Regions from separate parts of the Homo sapiens genome. Here region 1 is linked to region 2. Evidence: promoter capture Hi-C in 16 types of primary human blood cells and fetal thymus (Javierre and others, 2016). All regions are on one chromosome and are shown on one strand. Each heading gives the region's core, a stretch centred on a gene start or on the middle of the fragment in contact. The rest is flanking DNA. Distances are from core to core; before and after follow the strand shown.

Evidence for each region. Contacts are between HindIII fragments. The CHiCAGO score rates a contact against its expected background, and 5 or more counts as called.
Region 1: a contact is called between a fragment that was not itself captured here and the fragment with the promoter of CCDC43 in region 2, in 1 of 17 cell types (megakaryocytes). The highest score is 5.2, in megakaryocytes.

What each region holds. Positions count from the first base shown.
Region 1 is chr17:44,551,101-44,556,025 of GRCh38, reverse strand. No RefSeq gene overlaps it. Among named protein-coding and RNA genes, the nearest start is that of FZD2, 3.9 kb to the left of the region's middle. RefSeq lists an enhancer at 1-47. The HindIII fragment of the contact is 4,396 bases long and covers 1-4,105 here.
Region 2 is chr17:44,687,069-44,691,540 of GRCh38, reverse strand. It overlaps CCDC43 (coiled-coil domain containing 43), which reads left to right and starts at 1,765. Exons shown (of 5, transcript NM_144609.3): 1 at 1,765-1,991. The coding sequence starts at 1,788. It overlaps LOC105371792 (a long non-coding RNA gene), which reads right to left. Exons shown (of 4, transcript XR_007065769.1): 2 at 3,518-3,687; 3 at 3,248-3,363; 4 at 2,528-2,600. It overlaps LOC124904010 (a long non-coding RNA gene), which reads right to left and starts at 1,760. Exons shown (of 2, transcript XR_007065770.1): 1 at 1,687-1,760; 2 at 1,231-1,546. RefSeq lists enhancers at 1,635-1,774, 1,443-2,032. The HindIII fragment of the contact is 1,709 bases long and covers 1,144-2,852 here.

The DNA of each region.
Region 1 (4,925 bases), core at 658-3,157, 140 kb after region 2:
CTCTCCCGAGGGACAGGGGAAAGGGGGGACTTAAAAAGAAGAAAGAAAATTGAGTTTAGAAAGCCCCTTTGCTTCACAGTATGGGCCAAATCCTCACAGTCTGGTGAAATGTTTCTTGCTCCAATATAGAAAAGAATTGTTTTAAACAACAACAGCAGAAGAAGAAAAATAACAAAAAGAGGAAAGGAGTAGGGAGAAGGAAAAAATATTCTAAGTAGATGGATACAAAGGGATCCAGGTTTGACAGGATTCAAAAAAAAATTTTTTTTTCCTGATCGAATGAATGATATAAAGATGTTCCGGTTTCTTACAACTTGAAAATGTTCCTTATTACATCCTGGGGAATTTGCCTTTTCCCTACACCAGGATGAAAATTTTCCTTCAAAATTGGGGCATGAGTGGGTGTCGAGGGGGATATGCCTTTTTTTGTGCATCCCATTTCCAGCCCACCCATCTCTATTCCACCAGCAAGCCCATTTTCTCTCAGAGCAGTCTAAGGATGGGAATGTTGTGCTCTCTCTGCTCCATTTGAGCCTGAGCTTTTGATCCTCAGATCTCCTGCCTAGTCCATCTCAAAGCATCTTGAGAGCCGGTACCAAACATGGAAGCTGAGCAGTGGAAACAAAAATGAATGACAGGCTCCTATACCCCATTCAGGAAGCTCGCAGTCCGATAGGAAATTGAGAGCAAATCTCCAATGTAAACGCAGCATCTTCAATTTCCTTCCATGACAAACCCGTTTTCCTGGCCTAGGGCCAGGTCTGAATGACAGTTATCCCCTCCCAGCCACCCCAAGGCAGATGGGGAGCTGGGGAGCTGGAAACAGGAAATAGAGGACATTCTTCCATTCACTCAGGCAACCTTTCATTCCTTCAACACACTTTTTTTCTTATTTCAAACCACCATAATAGGGGCTATGGAGAATGTGGAAAAAGATGACAGCATCTGCCCTTCAAAAATTTATAGTAGGCCGGGGGCAGTGGCTCATGCCTATAATCCAGCACTTTTGGAGGCCAAGGCGGGCAATCACCTGAGATCAGGAGTTTGAGACCAGCCTGGCCAACATAGTGAAACCCCGTCTCTACAAAAAATACAAAAATTAGCTGGGCATGGTGGTGCATGCCTGTAGTCCCAGCTACTCAGGAGGCTGAGGCAGGAGCTGAGGCTTGAACCCGGGAGTCGGAGGCTGAAGTGAGCTGAGGTCGCGCCACTGCACTCCAGCCTGGGCAACACAGCGAGACTCTGTCTCAAAAAAAAAAAAAAAAAAGAGTTTATAGTAGCCCAGAAGAAAAGTGATTCCACAAAGATGTTACACTTGTCTAGCATTTGTACATGAAATAAGGAGAAATCACGGTATTTCATGTTTACTCTTGCCTTTCACGTGAGGGACCTGAGTGTGAACAGGACCAGAACCTGCATCTTCAGATTACAGGCCTACCTACAGCACTTCTCATTCTGCCAACCTGCCTCTTGAGTACAGGAGCCCTGTAACTAAAGGATGTAATTTGTTATTTGATAGATACAGCATTTATTTCTGAGTTTTTAAAAATTAGCTTGGGCAGGATGCAATGGCTCATGCCTTTAATCCCAGCACTTTGAGAGGCCAAGGCAGGAGGATTGCTTGAAGCCAGATTTGAGACCAGCTGGGACAAGAAGTGAGACCCCTGTCTCTACAAAAATTTTAAAACATTAGCTGGGCATGGTGGTGCATGCCTGTGGTCCCAGCTACTTGGGAGGCTGAGGTGGGAGAATTGCTTGAGCCCAGGAGGTTGAGGCTACAGTGAGCTGTCATCATGCCACTGTGCTCCAGCCCAGGCAACAGAGTGAGACCTCTAAATAAATAAATAAATTAGCTTGGTCATTGACTTGGACCCATTTGTAACTCTGCCACTAACTATACAGCCTTGGAACAGTCACTTTACTTCTTTGAACCTCAGTTTTCCCATCTGCCAAGTAGGAAACCAACAGATTTTAAAAATGTGAGACTCCACATCCAAAATAATTTCAGAATGACAAAAATACATTTCATAATCATAAAGCGCCTTTTAAAACAAGAAGTTACGTTGAATTAAATATTTATTCAGCAGGCATCCTGGGAGACCTAGGGTAATGGCTACCCTTTTTTTTTTAGACGGAGTCTCGCTCTGTCGCCCAGGCTGGAGTACAGTGGCACAATCTTGGCTCACTGCAACCTTCACCTCCCAGGTTCAAGCAATTCTCCTCTCTCAGCCTCCCAAGTAGCAGGGATTACAGCCGGGCACCACCATGCCTGGCTAATTTTTGTATTATTAGTAGAGACAGGGTTTCACCATGTTGGTCAGGCTGGTCTCGAACTCCTGACCTTGTGATCCACCCACCTCGGCCTCTCAAAGTGCTGGGATTACAGGCGTGAGCCACTGCGCCCGGCCAATTGCTACCATTTTTTGAGCTCCTGCTAAGTTCTGCACATGTATATGCCTACAAAGTGGGTATTGTTTTTTGTTTATAGATGAAGAATCCACCTTAGGTGAGATCTGGCAACTTTCCCAAAGTCACATAGTATGTGGCAGGGGTGAGATTAAAACCCAGGCCTGTTTGGCTCTTAAAGCTGTGTTCTGTCTCCTGCATCACATAGCCCCTAATATCTGTAAGAATTGTGTGCTCTTATTCACTTAACAAATTTATGGCCAGGCACGGTGGCTCATGCTTGTAATTCCACTTTGGGAGGCTGAGGCAGGAGGGTCACTTGAGGTCAGGAGTTTGGAACCAGCCTGGGCAACATAGCCAGAACTCATTTCTTTTTTTTTTTTTTTTTTTTTTTTGAGACAGAGTCTCACTCTGTCGCCAAGTACAGTGGTGCGATCTCAGCTCACTGCAACCTCCACCTCCTGGGTTCAAGCGATTCTCCTACCTCAGCCTCCTGAGTAGCTGGGATTACAGGCGCGCACCACCACACCCAGCTAATTTTTGTATTTTTAGTAGAGACGGAGTTTCACTATATTGGCAAAGCTGGTCTCAAACTCCTGACCTCATGATCTGCCCACCTCGACCTCCCAAAGTGCTGGGATTACAGGTGTGAGCCACCATGCCCGGCCTCATCTCTTAAAAAAAAAAAAAATTACACTGAATACCAGACCCAACCCTTTGTTCCTATGGAGCTCATGTCCTAGTGGGAGACACTCACGTTGACTGCACAGTCACTGACATGGATGTAAAAGTGCCATGGGATTCAGTGCTGTGAAGGGAAGATCCGTAGTTCTTTGAAAGCATAATTGGGGAGGGAATCTGACTGAGTCGGGGAGGGCAAGAGAGGCTGTGTGGTTGGAGTGAGGAGCAAAGTAGGACGAGGTAAAGAGGCCAGCAGGGATCAGAGTTGCAGGGCCTCACAGATCACGTGTGAGGTGTTGGATGTAGAAACATGAACTCACAATCTAACAGGGAAACAGACATGTAAACAGACAAGGGAGGGACAGGCATTCCAGACAGAGGGAACATTGTGTGCAAGGGCGTGGTGGGGTGAAATAGATGGAGTAGGGAGGCAGCGCAAGACTTTGGCCCTGTGAGAGTCCCACGTGCATCTAGGAGAACGACGGCAGAGGAGGCTTTAAGTAGTCAGAGATCTTGGATACCTTGCACACGGTCTGGGCTCCTGGAGATGAGGATATACTGGAGAATTTTGGGAAAGGAAGAGGTCACATTTGCATTTTAACTAGTGCATTTGGGCAGTTTTGAGGAGCATCATGCCGGGAGCCTGAGATACCAGTTACAGATTGATCACAAGAGACCAGGCAAGAAATGGTGACGGCAGGAACTGAGATGTGACAGTGCAGATGGTAAGGAGAGAGAGTAAGGGACGAGATCAACCAAGGCTCTGACCTAGGTGCCCTAATGCTATTAACCAGGCTGGGAAATGCAGGGAAAGGGCAGATAATGAGTGCAGTCATGCAAGCCTGGTCCTATGGCACATCCAAGAGAAGGTGTCCAGAAGGCAGGCGAATAATCTAACTCAGTGCTCAGGTCAGAACTCTGGGCTAGATTTAGATCTGGCACCTTCAGCCTATGTCTGATGGTATGAGCATGGCTAAGATCACCTAGGGAAGATGGATAGGGTGGGAAGGCCAAAGCTTTGGGGATGTCAACATTTAAAGGCCCTGGGGCCAATAAGGAAGGAGACTGAGAAGAGGTGTTTGGGCCAGCAGAGATTCTAGCCAACATGAGGATGTCACAAGGTTTGTTTCTTCTGGGTCTGAGAGCTTCAAGTCAGGTTTTTGTTTTCTTTCTTTGTTTTTGTTTTTGAGACAGGGTCTTGCTCCATTGCCCAGGCTGGAGTGCAGTGGCTCGATCTCACTCATTGCAACCTCTGCCTCCCTGGTTCAAGGGATTCTCCTTCCTTGAGTAGTTGGGATTACAGGTGTCCACCACCATGCCCAGCTAATTTTTTTTTTTTTTTGAGATGGAGTCTCGCTCTGTCCCCCAGGCTGGAGTGCAGTGGCTCCATCTCAGCTCACTGCAAGCTCCGCCTCCTGGATTCACGCCATTCTCCTGCCTCAGCCTCCTGAATAGCTGGGACTACAGGTGCCCACCACCATGCCCGGCTAATTTTTTTGTATTTTTAGTAGAAATGGGGTTTCACCATGTTAGCCAGGATGGTCTCGATCTCCTGACCTCGTGATCCGCCCGCCTCAGCCTCCCAAAGTGCTAGGATTACAGGCGTAAGCCACCATGCCCGGCTAATTTTTGTATTTTCAGTAGAGACAGGGTTTCACCATGTTGGCCAGGTTGGTCTTGAACTCCTGACCTCAAGTGATCTGCCCACCTCAGCCTCCCAAAGTGCTGGGATAACAGGTGTGAGCCACCGCACCTGGCCCAGAATTTTTATTTTTCTTATTTCAGTTGTGAGAATTAAATGAGACAGCATATGACACTCACTATGACCTGGTGCTAGA
Region 2 (4,472 bases), core at 516-3,015:
CCTCTCCCCACCTGCTTCCAACTCCACTCCAACAGGTAAAGTTAACTCAATCTTCTAGGCATCCTACTGCAATCTCCGCTAGATAAAGCTCCATTAAAACATTTATATCACTATATTGTCATCATTTGTTTAAACATGTCTGTTCCTAATGGATTAAAAACCCCTGAGGACATATATTTTGTGACATTCATTTTTGTGTTTTCAGTGCCAGCAACAATGCCATACTGAAGGTACTCAGTACATATTTGAGGAAGGAGTTAGCCAGGACCTTGCCAGCTTCCTCTGCACTTCAGCTAAAGCCAACCAAATTCTTGGGTAATTCATTCCAGCCCAGAGCCAGGTGTTTTGACGTCAGCTGAAGCTCTCATAACTCTGCCAAAGAAGAGTTCTTGCCACTGGTTAGGCGCCCTCTAGTTGTGTGACTCTCTCCATATCTGTCTCCTTATCTTTAGTGATTTTGTTTGTTCGTTTGTTTGTTTGTTTTTGAGATGGAGTCTCACTGTCGCTCAGGCTGGAGTGCAGCGGCGCGATCTTGGCTCACTGCAACCTCCGCCTTCCGGGTTCCAGCGATTCTGAGTAGCTGGGATTACAGGCCCGCGCCACCACACCTGGCTTTTGTTGTTGTTGTTGTTTGTTTTGAGACGGAATTTCGCTCTTGTTGCCCAGGCTGGAGTGCAATGGCACGATCTCTGCTCACCGCAACCTCCGCCTCCTGGGTTCAAGCGATTCTCCTGCCTCAGCCTCCCACGTAGCTGGGATTACAGGCATGTCCCACCACGCCCGGCTAATTTTGTATTTTTAGTAGAGACGGGGGTTCTCCATTTTGGTCAGGCTAGTCTCGAACTCCAGACCTCAGGTGAGCTGCCCACTTTGGCCTTCCAAAGTGCTGGGATTACGGGAGTGAGCCACCGTGCCCGGCCTTATTTTTGTATTTTTACTAGAGACGGGGTTTCACCATGTCGGCCAGGCTGGTCTCGAACTCCTGACCTCAGGTGATCCACCCGCCTCGGCTTCCCAAACTGTTGGGATTACAGGCGTGAGACATGGCGCCCGGCCTGTCTCCTTATCTTTAAAATGTGGACAATAAAAGCATCTCCCCACAGGGCTGTAGGGAGGATTACAAGAGATAATGCATGAAAAGCTTTTGGCACAGTGCCTAGCAGAGGGTGGGGTACGCTTCTCAAAGAATAGTCCCGTGCACGCGTTGAATCAATGAGTGGAAGAAATAACTTGAGGTTGCCTGTTTATTTACTGAGTGCCTACCATGGAATCAGGGAAGGTTTTCTGCAACCTTTACTTTGACAGGGAAGGGCTTGTACAGGTGAAGGTGGTAGCCGTCGGTAGCGACGACGAGGGTATTCCAGGCTGTCAGGAGGTTCTTGCCAGACAGCTGTGTGGGAGTGGGCGGCCAGCATCCCCCGAAAGCGCGGGGAAGGCAGCTCGGTCGGGTGGAGGAAGCGATGGCATCCACGCTGAGCTCCAGTCCTGGGTAGTTATTAGCCGCGTGACTTTGGCCAAATTACTGCACCTCTCTCAACTTCCCGAACTGTAGAATGAGTCTGTTAAGAATACTCACATGCCAAGCATCTTGTGAGATCACGCGACCGCACGTATGCGAAGACGCGCTTCATCTAGAAAGCACAAAACTCTCAAGCCGGCCGACACGGCTGCGCTCTTTGCACTTACGGGCCTGGGCTTCCTCTTCAGGCATGCGCGGTGGACCTGCGGCGCGGCCCGTCAGGCACTGCGGTAGGCGCCCTAGGGGCTTGCAGGACCCTGACCCCAAGATGGCGGCGCCCAGCGAAGTGGCCGCGATAGCCCCTGGCGAAGGCGATGGCGGAGGCGGCGGCTTTGGCTCCTGGCTGGACGGACGGTTGGAGGCACTGGGAGTGGACCGAGCCGTTTATGGAGCCTACATCTTGGGTATCCTGCAGGAGGAGGAGGAAGAAGAGAAGCTGGACGCTCTGCAGGGGATCCTCTCTGCTTTCCTGGTGAGTAGCCTGGACACATTCCTTCAGCCTCTGGCCAGCATCTGAGGACCTGTCAGTACTTTGCACCCTCCCTCCCCTACCGGGTATCCCAGAGGCTCAGTGGTCTCACCTGGGAGAGGTATACTCCTCTGATATCTGGGCGGCGGGGGAAGGAGGTTGCTCCCCAACCAGGTGTGGGAAGCCTGAAAGCTGCAGGTACACAGAGAGGAAGGGCTTTCTCGTATTCTTGGGGACAAGGCCCTCTCCGATGCTTGTGAGTGAGCCGAGGAGGGTTCTTCCGAAGGCATTGAAATGTCAGAATGGGAATGTTATCATAAATATCTGACGACCAATTCCATTTCCATCCGTTTACAGTGTTCACTGGGGGTATTAAAATGCTCTTGGGAGGTCTGTGCCTATTACAAGGCAGTTCCCAGGGCTGTCCCATGACAGAAGCCTGCAGGAAGTGCCCTTTTGATTCTTATATGGATGTAGGAGTCCATAAAAGGTAAGCTGGTGGTAGAAGTCTTTTCATGCCCACGCAGAACTGAAGCAAACGTCGTGCTTGATCCATTACAGTATTTACAGTAATCATTGGTGGTGGGAAGGAGGGTATGAGAGAGATCAGAGCTTTAACGAAGAGAGAGAAACTTAGTCCTTAGCCTGTTAGAAGCAAGGTATTCAGAAATGTGTACTTTAAGCTATGTTTACATAGTAAGTCACCCAGATGTCCACTTTTTCAACCTGATCATTTCTGCTGCCTTCATCTTCACTTCCCACACCTCCAACATACACACTTATTAGACTGGTTATTACAGATTAAATTGGTTGTAGGTGCTACCTGTGGCTGTCTAACAAATTGTTTCCTTTTAAATACAAGCTTAAAAATAAAATTTACTTGAATCATCACTAAATGCTGTAGAAGCTAGAGTTGTCTCTGCATTCATGGATTAGAGGAGATCCTGGATACCTGATTGCTACTGTGAGAGCCACCTGTCTGTCCATCAAAGGCTTTATCCTCTGGCATTTATTACAATGGACAGGTTAGAAAAATGGGTTCTTTGTTATTCTCAAAACCAATTTTGAAAGGCTAGTAATAGAATCAAAATGTACCATGAGGTGGGGCACAGTGGCTCATGTTTGTAATCTCACCACTTTGGGAGGCTGAGGTGGGAGGATTGCTTGAGGCCAAGAGTTCCACACCACACTGGGCAACATAGCAAGACCCTGTCTCTACAAAAAAATTTAAAAAATTAGCCAGGTATGGTGGCGCATACCTGTAGTCCCAGCTACTCAGAAGTCTGAAGTGGGAGGATCACTTGAGCCTAGGAGGCTGTGGCTGCAGTGAGCCGTGATTGTGCCACTGCACTCCAGCTTGGGTGACAGAGTGACCCTGTCTCAAAGAAAAAAAAATTAGTATAAATATATATAGATATAAATGTACATATTCATATCTCATTTTTTTAAAAGGGTAGAAGGCAGAAACATTTTCAAATCCAAAAGTGTTTTGTGAAAGCGGAAACAAGTGCTAGGAAAAAATCACTCACATTTGGTGGAAGCAGTTCATAGATTGGGTACATGGTTGAAATATAACACTAGTGCAGCTGTCCCAGATTCTTCTGGCAGTAACCCATTTGAGTTCCAGAGCCTCTTCTGGCAAGATTGGCTTATAAATGGGAAAACTTTAACACAGCCTGTGAGGAAGCTTGGAAGTTCACTGGAAATACAAGACAGTGGAATCAATTCTTTTTTTGGACCACAACATTACAGATTATAGGGAGAAAGAGTAGGAGGCAAGCAATTTAAGGTAGTTTTTATTTACAGCTGGGAAGTTTCTAAACACTCCATGAAGCTGTTGAAATAACTTTGAGACTTCTTGGTACCAGCTTCTTGATCAGTCCATCATTATTTGGAGCTGTTTCTGTTGATAAAGGTAGACATTAGTTTGCCTTTTTTTTTTTTTAAGAGAGTCTCGCTCTGTTATAGTAATGTGATCATAACTCACTGTAGCCTTGAACGACTGGACTCAAGCAATCCCCTCTCATCAGCCTCCCAAGTAGCTAGGACTACAGGCACCTGCCATCACATATCATGCCTGGCTAACTTTTTTTTTTATGTTTTATGTTTTATTTTTTGAGACAAAGTCTCACTCTGTCACCCAGGCTGGAGTGCAGTAGCAAAATCTCGGCTCACTGTAACCTCTGCCTCCTGGGTTCAGGTGATTCTCAGCCTCCCGAGTAGCTGGGATTACAGGCATATGCCACCATGCCTGGCTAATTTTTATATTTTTAGTAGAGATGGGGTTTCACCATGTTGACCAGGCTGGTCTCAAACTCCTGACCTCAAGTGATCCACCCATCTCAGTCTCTCAAAGTGCTGGGGCTATAGGCGTGAGCCACCACACCCAGCCATGCCTGGCTAATTAAAAAAAAAAAATTTTTTTTTGTAGAGACAGGGTTTTGCCATGTTGCTCAGGGTGGTCTTATGCTCCTGGGCTCAAGA